Linked DNA regions of Homo sapiens: all the other regions are linked to region 4. The links are contacts of gene promoters, found by promoter capture Hi-C in blood cells and fetal thymus (Javierre and others, 2016). All regions are on one chromosome and are shown on one strand. Each heading gives the region's core, a stretch centred on a gene start or on the middle of the fragment in contact. The rest is flanking DNA. Distances are from core to core; before and after follow the strand shown.

The links. Contacts are between HindIII fragments. The CHiCAGO score rates a contact against its expected background, and 5 or more counts as called.
Region 1: a fragment that was not itself captured here is called in contact with the fragment with the promoter of TARS2 in region 4 in 1 of 17 cell types (non-activated CD4 T cells); the score reaches 5.4 in non-activated CD4 T cells.
Region 2: a contact is called between a fragment that was not itself captured here and the fragment with the promoter of TARS2 in region 4, in 1 of 17 cell types (neutrophils). The highest score is 5.3, in neutrophils.
Region 3: a contact is called between the fragment with the promoter of ARNT here and the fragment with the promoter of TARS2 in region 4, in 8 of 17 cell types (fetal thymus, naive CD8 T cells, neutrophils and 5 more). The highest score is 8.4, in fetal thymus.

Annotation. Positions count from the first base shown.
Region 1 is chr1:150,926,866-150,929,932 of GRCh38, forward strand. It overlaps SETDB1 (SET domain bifurcated histone lysine methyltransferase 1), which reads left to right. Exons shown (of 22, transcript NM_001366418.1): 2 at 839-1,109. The coding sequence starts at 850. Among named protein-coding and RNA genes, the nearest start is that of SETDB1, 2.0 kb to the left of the region's middle. The HindIII fragment of the contact is 3,618 bases long and covers 9-3,067 here.
Region 2 is chr1:150,780,549-150,783,507 of GRCh38, forward strand. It overlaps the pseudogene LOC100132571. Among named protein-coding and RNA genes, the nearest start is that of CTSS, 16 kb to the left of the region's middle. RefSeq lists enhancers at 326-1,183, 1,184-2,040. The HindIII fragment of the contact is 8,697 bases long and covers 1-2,959 here.
Region 3 is chr1:150,875,032-150,878,373 of GRCh38, forward strand. ARNT (aryl hydrocarbon receptor nuclear translocator) reads right to left here and starts at 1,568. Exons shown (of 22, transcript NM_001668.4): 1 at 1,512-1,568. The coding sequence starts at 1,536. It also overlaps a transcript of LOC107985204 not described here. RefSeq lists an enhancer at 1-133 and silencers at 1,194-1,623, 1,627-1,900. The HindIII fragment of the contact is 12,157 bases long and covers 1-3,342 here.
Region 4 is chr1:150,485,747-150,488,696 of GRCh38, forward strand. TARS2 (threonyl-tRNA synthetase 2, mitochondrial) reads left to right here and starts at 1,673. Exons shown (of 18, transcript NM_025150.5): 1 at 1,673-1,770; 2 at 2,112-2,308. The coding sequence starts at 1,705. RefSeq lists enhancers at 1,498-2,004, 1,498-1,767. The HindIII fragment of the contact is 2,845 bases long and covers 1-2,657 here.

The DNA.
Region 1 (3,067 bases), core at 568-3,067, 440 kb after region 4:
TTGCTGCAAGCTTTCGTGTGTTTGAATATCATAGACTTTTTAAAAAGTAAAATTCCACATGGAAGCAAAGTAATATAAGGGGAACAAGTAATGAAAGAGAAAACACTGAGTTAGTGAGTTCCAAATCAACTCCATCCCCAGGTGGGGTTTTGTTTAAATTAGGCATAGCATACAAAGATTTATCACATTAGTTAAGGAACACATATAGACCACAAAAATATCTTATAGATTGGTTCTCTTCAGTATCCCAAAAGATTATTTTTAAAGTTCGGTTTGTTTTGAGACAGGGTCTCACTTTGTCACCCAAGCTGGAATGCATGGCGCGAACATAGCTCACTACAGCAGCTACTCCTGGGCTCAAGCGATCCTCCCACTTCAGCCTCCTGAGTAGCTGGAACTAAAGGCGTGCACCACCACACGTGGCTAATTTTTGTATTTTTTTGTAAAGACGAGTCTTGCCATGTTGCCCAGGCTGGTCTTGAACTCCTGCCCTCAAGCGACCCTCCTGCCTCGGCCTCTAAAAGTGCTGAGATTACAGGTGTAAGCCACTGTGCCAGCCCAAAACATTATTTTCAGTAGCTCTCTACTGCTTAATGAATGTTCTCCATGCCGTCTCAAACTCTTAAATCTTTTTCAGGAGTGTTAGCGTACAGCAGAAGATAAGAACTCTTAAAAATCTCAGCATCAGATTCTGGAGAATAGGGAGGGAGAACATGGAATATTTGAATAGAATAACAGGCAGCAGAGTAGGAATTAGTTTTATTAGGGAACTGAAATTCTCTATTGATTGATTGTAGTTATAAGGACTCCAATTTAATTTGTTTTCTGTTCCATGCAGAGGACAAAAGCATGTCTTCCCTTCCTGGGTGCATTGGTTTGGATGCAGCAACAGCTACAGTGGAGTCTGAAGAGATTGCAGAGCTGCAACAGGCAGTGGTTGAGGAACTGGGTATCTCTATGGAGGAACTTCGGCATTTCATCGATGAGGAACTGGAGAAGATGGATTGTGTACAGCAACGCAAGAAGCAGCTAGCAGAGTTAGAGACATGGGTAATACAGAAAGAATCTGAGGTGGCTCACGTTGACCAACTCTTTGATGATGCATCCAGGTGAGAACTCCATGGAAAATAGAAGGAAATCTCTCCATTGGGAGATGTTTTTAGAGAATAATTGTTCATGACATTGAACCAAGCATTTTATTTTATGTTTTGAGACGGAGTCTCGCTCTGTCACCCAAGCTAGAGTGCAGTGGAGTGATCCTGGCTCACTGCAACCTCCACCTCTCGGGTTCAAGTGATTCTCCCACCTCCCCCTCCCGAGTAGCTGGAATTATAGGCATCCGCCACCACACCCAGCTAATTTTTTATATTTTTAGTAGAGACAGGGTTTCACCATGTTGGCCAGGCTGTGTACCAAACATTTTATACTTTATGAAGTACAGATGTTTAGAACCTTACTCTTCCTCAAAGTTTATGGTCAAAAATCTGACCTTACAATCAGCCGTAAATATAATTTTCATCTGTCAGCAGCTAATACATGATCAGCAGTAAGGGAGTCCAAGTCTTAAGTCCTTTCCCCTTCTTCCTCCTGTGCTCTATCTTAGAACAATTGCTTCATTTCCCTAGTAAGATCATCCAGGGAGTGAGGATTGTAAAGAATTTCTGTCTTACGTAACTCTGAAGCATTAGTAAGTTCCCATACCCCCAAAAGATTTGTTTCTGGTGCTCTAGTTGTCACTTAGAATACATTGTTTTTAAATTTATTATACTTTAAGTTCTAGGGTATATGTGCACAACGTGCAGGTTTATTACATATGTATACATGTGCCATGTTGGTGTCACTTACATTAGGTATATCTCCTAATACTATCCCTCCCCCTTCCCCCCACCCCACGACAGGCCCCAGTATGTGACGTTCCCCATCCTGTGTCCAGGTGTTCTCATTGTTCAATTCCCACCTATGAATGAGAACGTGCGGTGTTTGGTTTTCTGTCCTTGCTATAGTTTGCTCAGAATGATGGTTTCCAGCTTCATCCATGTGCCTACAAAGGACATGAACTCATCCTTTTTTATGGCTGCATAGTATTCCATGGTGTATATGTGCCACATTTCTTAATCCAGTCTATCATTGATGGACATTTGGGTTGGTTTAAAGTCTTTGCTATTGTGGATAGTGCCGCAATAAACATACGTGTGCATGTGTCTTTATAGCAGCATGATTTATAATCCTTTGGGTATATACCCAGTAATGGGATTGCTGGGTCAAATGGTATTTCTAGTTCTAGATCCTTGAGGAATCGCCACACTGTCTTCCACAATGGTTGAACAAGTTTACAGTCCCACCAACAGTGTAAAAGTGTTCCTGTTTCTCTACATCCTCTCCAGCACCTGTTGTTTCCTGACTTTTTAATGATCGCCATTCTAACTGGTGTGAGACGGTATCTCATGGTGGTTTTGATTTGCATTTCTCTGATGGCCACTGATAATGAGCATTTTTTTATTTTATTTTTATTTTATTTTATTTTTTTTTTAGACAGAGACTTGCTCTGTCTCACCCAGGCTGGAGTACAGTGACGTGATCTCGGCTCACTGCAGCCTCCGCCTCCCGAGTTCAAGCAGCTCTCCTGTCTCAGCCTCCGGAGTAGCTGGGACGACAAGCGTGTGCCACCACACCCGGCTAATTTTTGTATTTTTAGTAGAGATGGAGTTTTACCATGTCGGCCAGGCTGGGGAGGTCAAATTCCTGACCTCAAGTGATCTACCTGCCTCAGCCTCCCAAATTGCTGGGATTGCAGGTGTGAGCCACCACTGCCAGCCAGGATACATTTTCAGATAACAGCAAGGTAAATAATGAGGTAAGGGTGAAAGTACTGTACTTTGGGCTTACTTTGGATTTTTGAGGAACTAGTCTGGAAACTAAACCACTATTTAAAACATTTTTCTATAGAAAAAGCATTCTAAATTCTAAACAGAGACACTTTGGAATGTGGCCCATTTAAATTGAGGACTGTCTATACTTAAATATATATACATCGTAATGGATTCTATATCTCTTAATTCCTCTACTG
Region 2 (2,959 bases), core at 86-2,585, 290 kb after region 4:
AAGCTAAAATCAGAAAACCAAGTTGTTGGACAACATATAGAAAATCTCATGTCAGCTTCTGGTGTTTTTCAAACAACTGACACCGAAAGCAAAAGAAAGTAAGGAATTGACACACTTCTGTTTTACAGAATTGCTGCTGATAATTTTTTCTTTTAAACTTGGACAGATTCCAAAAAGTTACAGCATCTTTGTGGCTTCATTGAATATTTATGAAGAAAATGTCAGGTGAGGCAAAATTAACAGCATTAACAGGAGACTTCCCTAAGTTTGTATATTATATTAGTCTATGAAAACATGCAGTCTCTCCCTCTCCCTCCCCCTCCCCCTCCCTCTCCCCACGGTCTCCCTCTCTTTCCACGGTCTCCCTCTCATGCGGAGCCGAAGCTGGACTGTACTGCTGCCATCTCGGCTCACTGCAACCTCCCTGCCTGATTCTCCTGCCTCAGCCTGCCGAGTGCCTGCGATTGCAGGCACGCGCCGCCACGCCTGACTGGTTTTGGTGGAGACGGGGTTTCGCTGTGTTGGCCGGGCCAGTCTCCAGCCCCTAACCGCAAGTGATCCGCCAGCCTCGGCCTCCCGAGGTGCCGGGATTGCAGACGGAGTCTCGTTCACTCAGTGCTCAATGGTGCCCAGGCTGAAGTGCAGTGGTGTGATCTCGGCTCGCTACAACCTCCACCTCCCAGCCGCCTGCCTTGGCCTCCCAAAGTGCCGAGATTGCAGCCTCTGCCCGGCCGCCACCCTGTCTGGGAAGTGAGGAGTGTCTCTGCCTGGCCGCCCATCGTCTGGGATGTGAGGAGCCCCTCTGCCTGGCTGCCCAGTCTGGAAAGTGAGGAGCGTCTCCGCCCGGCCGCCATCCCATCTAGGAAGTGAGGAGCGCCTCTTCCCGGCCGCCATCCCATCTAGGAAGTGAGGAGCGCCTCTTCCCGGCCGCCATCCCATCTAGGAAGTGAGGAGCGCCTCTTCCCGGCCGCCATCCCATCTAGGAAGTGAGGAGCGCCTCTTCCCGGCCGCCATCACATCTAGGAAGTGAGGAGCGTCTCTGCCCGGCCGCCCATCGTCTGAGATGTGGGGAGCGCCTCTGCCCCGCCGCCCCATCTGGGATGTGAGGAGCGCCTCTGCCCGGCCGAGACCCCCTCTGGGAGGTGAGGAGCGTCTCTGCCCGGCCGCCACGTCTGAGAAGTGAGGAGCCCCTCCGCCCGGCAGCCGCCCCGTCTGAGAAGTGAGGAGCCTCTCCGCCCGGCAGCCACCCCATCTGGGAAGTGAGGAGCGTCTCCGCCCGGCAGCCACCCCGTCCGGGAGGGAGGTGGGAGGTCAGCCCCCTGCCCGGCCAGCCGCCCCGTCCGGGAGGGAGGTGGGGGGGTCAGCCCCCCGCCCGGCCAGCCGCCCCGTCCGGGAGGTGAGGGGCGCCTCTGCCCGGCCGCCCCTACTGGGAAGTGAGGAGCCCCTCTGCCCGGCCACCACCCTGTCTGGGAGGTGTGCCCAACCGCTCATTGAGAACAGGCCAGGATGACAATGGCGGCTTTGTGGAATAGAAAGGTGGGAAAGGTGGGGAAAAGATTGAGAAATCGGATGGTTGCCGTGTCTGTGTAGAAAGAAGTAGACATGGGAGACTTTTCATTTTGTTCTGTACTAAGAAAAATTCTTCTGCCTTGGGATCCTGTTGATCTGTGACCTTACCCCCAACCCTGTGCTCTCTGAAACATGTGCTGTGTCCACTCAGGGTTAAATGGATTAAGGGCGGTGCAAGATGTGCTTTGTTAAACAGATGCTTGAAGGCAGCATGCTCGTTAAGAGTCATCACCACTCCCTAATCTCAAGTACCCAGGGACACAAACACTGCGGAAGGCCGCAGGGTCCTCTGCCTAGGAAAACCAGAGACCTTTGTTCACTTGTTTATCTGCTGACCTTCCCTCCACTATTGTCCCATGACCCTGCCAAATCCCCCTCTGTGAGAAACACCCAAGAATTATCAATAAAAAAATAAATTAAAAAAAAAAAAAAGGAAAACATGCAAATGAATTGTAGAAACTTTATCATTACAGTTGCACATATTGGCCAGGTGCAGTGGCACATGCCTGTAATCCCAGAACTTTGGGAGGCGGAGGCATGTGGATTGCCTGAGGTCAGGAGTTCGAGACCAGCCTGGCAACATGGTGAAACCCCATTCCTACTAAAAATACAAAATAATTAGCCAGGCGTGGTGGCTTATGCCTGTAATCCCAGCTATTCGGCAGGCCGAGGCAGGGGAATTGCTTGAACCTGGGAGGTGGAGGCTGCAGTGAGCTGAGGTTGCTCCGTTGCACTCCAGCCTTGGTGACAGAGCGAGACTGCATTTAAAAAAAAAGAATTGCATATATTTATGAAACTTAAAGATGAATGTTTTATCAAATTTTCCTTGATTTGTAGATTTAGCACTGTCTTTTATTAGAGGCTTACTAAGATATACAAGAAAAATAACCACACGTTGTGAAAAAGTGACCGGAATCATACACTGAATGCGTAGCCTCATGTACCCTGTCCGTCATCTTATGCCTCTTCTCCACTTGCCTCTTCCTCTTTACCTTCCTCGAAGGAAAGAATTGGTTTCACATTTGTAAAAGTCATTTTAATAGTTAATCATCTCAGAGAGTAACCTGCACTTTAATTGTTGAAACTTAACCAAAATAAGATACAGAAAGTATCTGTATCTGAGAAACAGCTAGGGCTTGTCATTTTTTATATTTAGTATTAAGACAAGAATGCTGGTTTCTCTTTAATCCATTTAAAACAGAGGGAAGCTATAAAAATAAAGATTTTTCTTTGAGGCTGAATTGTCAACTTAGGAAGATTTGTTGTTAAAAATTTGTTTTTGCACAAAGTAACTCACTTCATCTTATCTGGAAAGATAAGTTGGTCAAGTGTATGTTTAAAATACAAAATTTAGAGGAAAAATAGAAATAGGGTGAAAAAGTACTTGGTA
Region 3 (3,342 bases), core at 318-2,817, 390 kb after region 4:
CTTCTTAATAAGAGAAATGCTTTGCAATTTAACTAGGGTTATATAAGTATTTTGCAATGTGTGATCAGTTAAAAATCTTGTTTATTTATTCCATAGTTCACAGATAGGTTATATTACTACAAGGTCAGGTTTGACATAACGGCATTTTTCCTGTTTTATAGTTTTATTCTATCACTCAGCACTTCCTGCAATGTAATTTTTGCGATTAATTTTACCTCCCTTTCCTTCAAAAAAAATTTAAAAGATTAAAAAAAAATGACGTGACAAATTAACCATTTCTTAAAATAGCTATTCCCAGAAACACGGTAGAAAAGAAATTTCAGTGATTCAACTGTCCTATCAAAATCTGGATATTGCAAAATCATACTGCCTTTCAGTAACATGAAAAAAAATCTAATTTAAATTTCAACGTGGGGATGGGGGTAATCACTCCTACTGTTTTATTTTCAAGAAATTCTCCGCCCCACGCAACACACACACATATCTCAAGGCCCTTTTTAAGGCTATCAAATATATTGGTTTTTGGAAAAGGATAGACTTTATTTGGCAAGAATAACCAAGGTCTCCAAGATAAACTAGACCCCTAAAATGAAATGCCTTCTAAAGAGGAATAACTGTAACATAGAGGAAAGAGGGCTGGGACTAGTAATTTGAAGATCTGATCTCTCTAGAACTGCACTACACCCTACTCCATCTCTTAGACAAAACAGACCAAACCTTTTTGATATTTGATTATTTTTTGAAATTGAGAAATGGTGTGGAATCAAACTTTTCTGAAAGAGTTTGGAAATTGCCTCGACGTAGGCCTAACAAGATTTAAACCTGGGGCTGTGGAACTAAAGACCTGTCCGGAACCATAACCATTACACAAACCCCTGCCCTCAGCAGGCAAAGACCTACAGGCCCTCTTAACACAAGATCTAAGTTTCAAAGTATAGTCCGGGGACGGAGACGGGGACGGGGGTTGCGGGTGGGAGGTAACAGCCTAAAGAAACGTCGTATATATCAAAGAATGTCCATTTTTTATTTTTTAAATTAAAATCTAAACCTTTAAATGTTTGGAAGCAACGCCTCAACTAAAGAGCAGTGTGGTCCAGGGTTTATGAATCCAAACTACTCTTAAAGTAAACCGAGACACTCTGCCTACAGTTTTCGGCATCAAGCGGCTCCAGCGGGCAGAGGGTTAAAAGAGGACCACATCACAGACCAGACGCCGACCGAGGAGTGAGGGCGGGCCAGCCCCGCACTGGCTGCCGCTCCAACGGAGGTCAGGACAGGGAGCCCCCCTCAACTCCCACCTGCCCCCTCGCTCCCTTGGGTATACTCGAGTCTACCCAAGTCCCCGGGATCGGGCCCCTCCCCAGGTCACCGCTCCCCCACCGTCTCTCGCGGCCCCCGCCCCGCCCCGGCGCCTTCAGCTCCAGCTGCGTCCCCTCAGCCCTGGGTCTCCTTAGTTGTCAGCCCCTTCGGCCCCTCCCCTTTAGAGGCGCCCCAGTCCTCCGTCTCCTCACCGGGGTTGGCAGTAGTCGCCGCCATGGCCGCAGATGCCACCGCCGCCGCGCCACCCCCCCCCCCAGTGGGAGGAGCCGCCGCCACCGAACCGGGAGGGAGGGGAAAAGAAAGGCCACTCCCCAGAAGCGGCGCCTGACCGCCGCCTCCGCTACCGCGGAATCCAAGATGGCGGCTTCAGCAGCCCCCAGCATCCCAGCCCCTGCGGCGGGGAGACCCCGCCTATATAGTAGGCGGAGTCAACACACGGCCAGCCTCCTAAGAAAAATTGACCAATGAAAATGCCAAATCGTCCAAGGGCAGGGCTACTCACTGCGCCAGCCAGTCCAGTGAAGGGAGGGCGAGGAAGAAGTCCAGCTGTCTCCCTAATCTCGCCCTCCTTGCGTAAGAGGTCAATGACCGAGTAACGTCATTGAAATGCAATTAAAATGGGTATTTTAGGCTGGGCGCGGTGGCTCGCGTCTGTAATCCCAGCACTTTGGGAGGCCGAGGCGGCCGGATCACCTGTGGCCAGGGGTTCGAAACCAGCCTGGCCAACATGGCGAAACCCCGTCTCTACTAAAAATACAAAATTAGCCGGGCGTGGTGGCGCATGCCTGTAATCCCAGCTTCTTGGGAGGCTGAGGCAGGAGAATCGCTTGAACCTGGGAGGCAGAGGTTGCAGTGAGCCGAGATAGCGCCACTGCACGCCAGTCTGGGCAACAAGAGCGAAACTCCGTCTCAAAAAAAAAAAAAAGGATATTTTACTAAAAACCTTCGCTTGGTGGTGGATTCGTCTGAGTGGTTGCCGTGCAGACAATGTATCTTGTAAATCCTCTTTAGGTGCTAAAGAGCACCTAAACATCACATGGTGATTTGTAATCCTTTCCAGTTTTTTTCCTCTTTTAAGGACTTTTGTCCCTGGTGAAAAAGTTAAATGACTAACTTTTGAATGCCTGCTATGGAACCGGTAGTCTAAAAGGATCCAGGTGTTAACGGTTTGGTATGGGAGATATTGCCAGCCAAAATTGGAGGCAATAGATGAAGAAAGTAATTTGAGAATGGGTAACTTCTTTGGTCAGTGACAGGGACAGAGTGAGGAGTTTTGTTTGTCTGTTTTTGAGACAGAGTCTCTCTCTGTCGCCCAGGCTGGAGTGCAGTGGCGCAATCTCGGCTCACTGCAACCTCCACCTCCCCGGTTCAAGCAATTCCCCTGCCTCAGTCTCCTGAGTAGCTGGGATTACAGGCGCACGCCACACGCCTGGCTAATGTTTTTTGTATTTTTAGTAGAGATGGAGTTTCACGACGTTGGCCAGGCTGGTCTCGAACTCCTGACATCAGGCAATCTGCCCGCCTCGGTCTCACAAACTGTTGGGATTACAGGCGTGAGCCACCACACCTGGCCAGTGAGGAGTTTTTAATAGGGAATCAATAAGATGATGGCTGTGCAGATTTATTTTCTTTTTTCTTTATTTTTTTCTGAGACGGAGTCTTGCTCCATCACCCAGGCTGGAGTGCAGTGGTGCGATCTTGGCTCACTGCAACCTCTCCCTCCCGGGTTCAAGCAGTTATCCTGCCTCAGCCTCCTGAGTAGCTGGGATTACAGGCGCGCACCACCACGCCCGGCTAATTTTTGTTTCCTGGTAATAGGAAGCATTGAGCTATTCGAGGTAGGCACTGTCCAAAATGCTTTATATGTATTTACTCATTTAATCCTCACAACAACGATGAGGTAGGTTCTACTGCTATTTCCATTTTGCAATTAAGGAAACAGAAACAAAGAGGGTAAGCAAGGGACATCCAGCAGGTAAGTAATGTGGGAGGCAAACTAAAGGAGTCTGACACTGGAAACCT
Region 4 (2,950 bases), core at 423-2,922:
CTCTACTAAAAATACAAAATTAGCTGGGCCTGGGGTGGCACATGCCTGTAATCCCAGCTACTCGGGAGGCTGAGGCAGGAGAAGCGCTTGAACCTGGGGAGGCGGAGGTTGCGGTAAGCCGAGATCACGCCACTGCACTCCAGCCTGGGCAACAAGAGTGAAACTCCATCTCAAAAAAAAAAAAAAAAGATTAAAAGGTCTATAAAGTCCCTATTAAGCACCATGAGTATAAAGGGACTCAAACTGACCTCTGCAGATTCTTGATTCCAGCTTTTTTGTTTTTGTTTTGTTTTGAGATGAAGTCTCGCTCTTGTCCCCCAGGCTGGAGTGCATGGCGTGATCTCGGCTCACTGCAACCTCCACCTCCCGGGTTCAAGCGATTCTCCTGTCTCAGCCTCCCAAGTAGCTGGGATTACAGGCGCCCACCACCATGCCCAGCTAATTTTTGTATTTTTAGTAGAGACGGGGTTTCACCATGTTGGCCAGGCTGGTCTAGAACTCCTGACCTCAGGTGATCCACCCGCCTCGGCCTCCCAAGTAGCTGGGATTACAGGCGCCCACCACCACGCCCAGCTAATTTTTGTATTTTTAGTAGAGACGGGGTTTCACCATGTTGGCCAGGCTGGTCTAGAACTCCTGACCTCAGGTGATCCACCTGCCTCGGCCTCCCAAAGTGCTGGGATTACAGCGTGAGCCACTGCGCGCGGCCATCTTTGCTCCAGCTTTAAAGTGGTTACTCCAGAGGCTGAGGTGGTCAGTTGAGCCCAGGAGGTCGAGACTGCAGTGAGCCATGATTGTACCCCTGCACTCCAGCCTGGGCAACGGTGAGACCTTGTCTCAAAATTAAAAAATAAAACTGTTACAGTCATTTATCATAATAGCTTCTTGTTGCTTTTGCCCATTACCAAAAAACCATGGGCCACACTAGACGATTTACATAAAATTTAACTCAACAATTGGGAGCAACACTATTCTCATTTTATAGTTGAGAAAATTGAGGCTTAGAGAAATTAAATAGGTCAGGCAAGGCGGCTCATGCCTGTAATTCCAGAACTCTGGGAGGCCGGAGCGCGGTGGCGGTTTGGTGGGGGGGAGGGGAGGGATTGCTTGAGGCCAGGAGTTCGAGACTACCCTGGCCAACATAGTGAGACCCGCCCCCCCCTCCCGCCCCCCCCGGTCTCTATTAAATAAATATGAGAAGTTTAATAATTTTCCCAAAATTACATAGTTAATGGCAGATCCAGAATTTACACTAGGTCTGTCTGGTTCCCCAGTCTATGCTCTTAAGTTTTGCTACTTGCTGTAAGGACCACGTAAAATAAAATGTATAGTTAAAGGGAAATTACTACCATTTCCTGTCTGGTTTTCTCCCACTCTCGCCCTCAAAAGTTCACCTGCCCTTGTCCTCAAAGCCACAGGACGCCTAATTGCTATTTTTGGGTTTCAGCTGAAACGCCACGGGTCTGGGGGAATAGCGAGGGTGTGTTACATTTTCGGTCTTCCGGTCAGCCGGAACCACTCACACCGCTGCTGGTGCTGTGTAGGGTGTACCTCTTCGGAGTTCCTGGAGGTGGTGCCAGACTAGAGTGGCAGCTGTAGTAACCAATAGACACGGACTTTGTTGGACCAGAAGCCAATGAAGAATTACGTGGAGGAGAAGCGGCGATAATCTGTTTGAGGATGTAGGCACTGGTGTGAAGGAACATGGCCCTGTATCAGAGGTGGCGGTGTCTCCGGCTCCAAGGTTTACAGGCTTGCAGGCTACACACGGTGCGTGAGGCACCCCCAAAGCTCCGATCCGCATCAGACTTAGCCCAGCCGAAGCCCCCAAATTTTTATGTTAACCCAGCCTCACGCCACTCCTCCTCTCCCTGGTCCTCCGAGTCCCCAGAAAAGGACTCGTATCTAAACTCGTTATCTAATTCTCGAGTTAGCGGTCTGGGGGACTCTGAGCTCGAAGGACCCCCAGCCTAGGGTCTTGTATCACCCAATCCCCTTAAAAAGTAGGAATTCGGACGAAGTCCACTTAACCATCCCAAAGTGCCATCATCTGCAATTCTAAGAAAGAATGATGGGACGTGTGTTACCTGCTAATATATCTTTCCCTCCAGGCAGTTGTGTCGACCCCTCCACGCTGGTTGGCAGAGCGGCTTGGCCTTTTTGAGGAGCTGTGGGCTGCTCAGGTAAAGAGATTAGCAAGCATGGCACAGAAGGAACCCCGGACTATTAAGATATCACTTCCTGGAGGCCAGAAAATTGATGCTGTGGCATGGAACACAACCCCCTACCAACTAGCCCGGCAGATCAGGTAACAGGCCCATCCTGTAACTACCAGGATTATCCTTCTGCCCCTTTACTTTCTCTTCACTTGAGCAGGGGAAGAAAACTTGGTCTGCTTGTTTCTGTTCCGTCCCCATTAAGATAGCCTTTCCTGAAGATTTTGTTTTTGTTTTTTGTTGTTGTTCTTTTATACAGACGGGGTCTCTCCATGTTGCCCAGGCTAGTCTTGAACTCCTGGGCTCAAGCGATCCTTCCATCTCAGCCTCCCGAAGTGCTGGGATTACAGGCATGAGCCACCAAACCCGGCCTGAGATTTGTTTTATCTGTATTAGTTTCTGCATCAGAGTCTCTGTCCTTTCATTGGGGAAAGAAATGAAAGCTTCTGTTGCTCTGGTAACTCATTTCACCTTTGCAAGTTTACAGTTGCTGAGAGATGAGCAACTTTCTCCCCACTGTGGATTGTAACCCTGTCTGTTTTAAATCATTAATTTACTTTTTAATAATTGATACATAATAATTGAACATATGAATGGGTATATGTGATATTTTGATATATGCATACAATATGTAATGATCAAATCAGGGTGTTCAGGATATCTGTTACCCCAAACATTTATCATTTCTTTGTGTTGGGACTATTTCAAATCTTCTAGCTATTTTGAAATATACA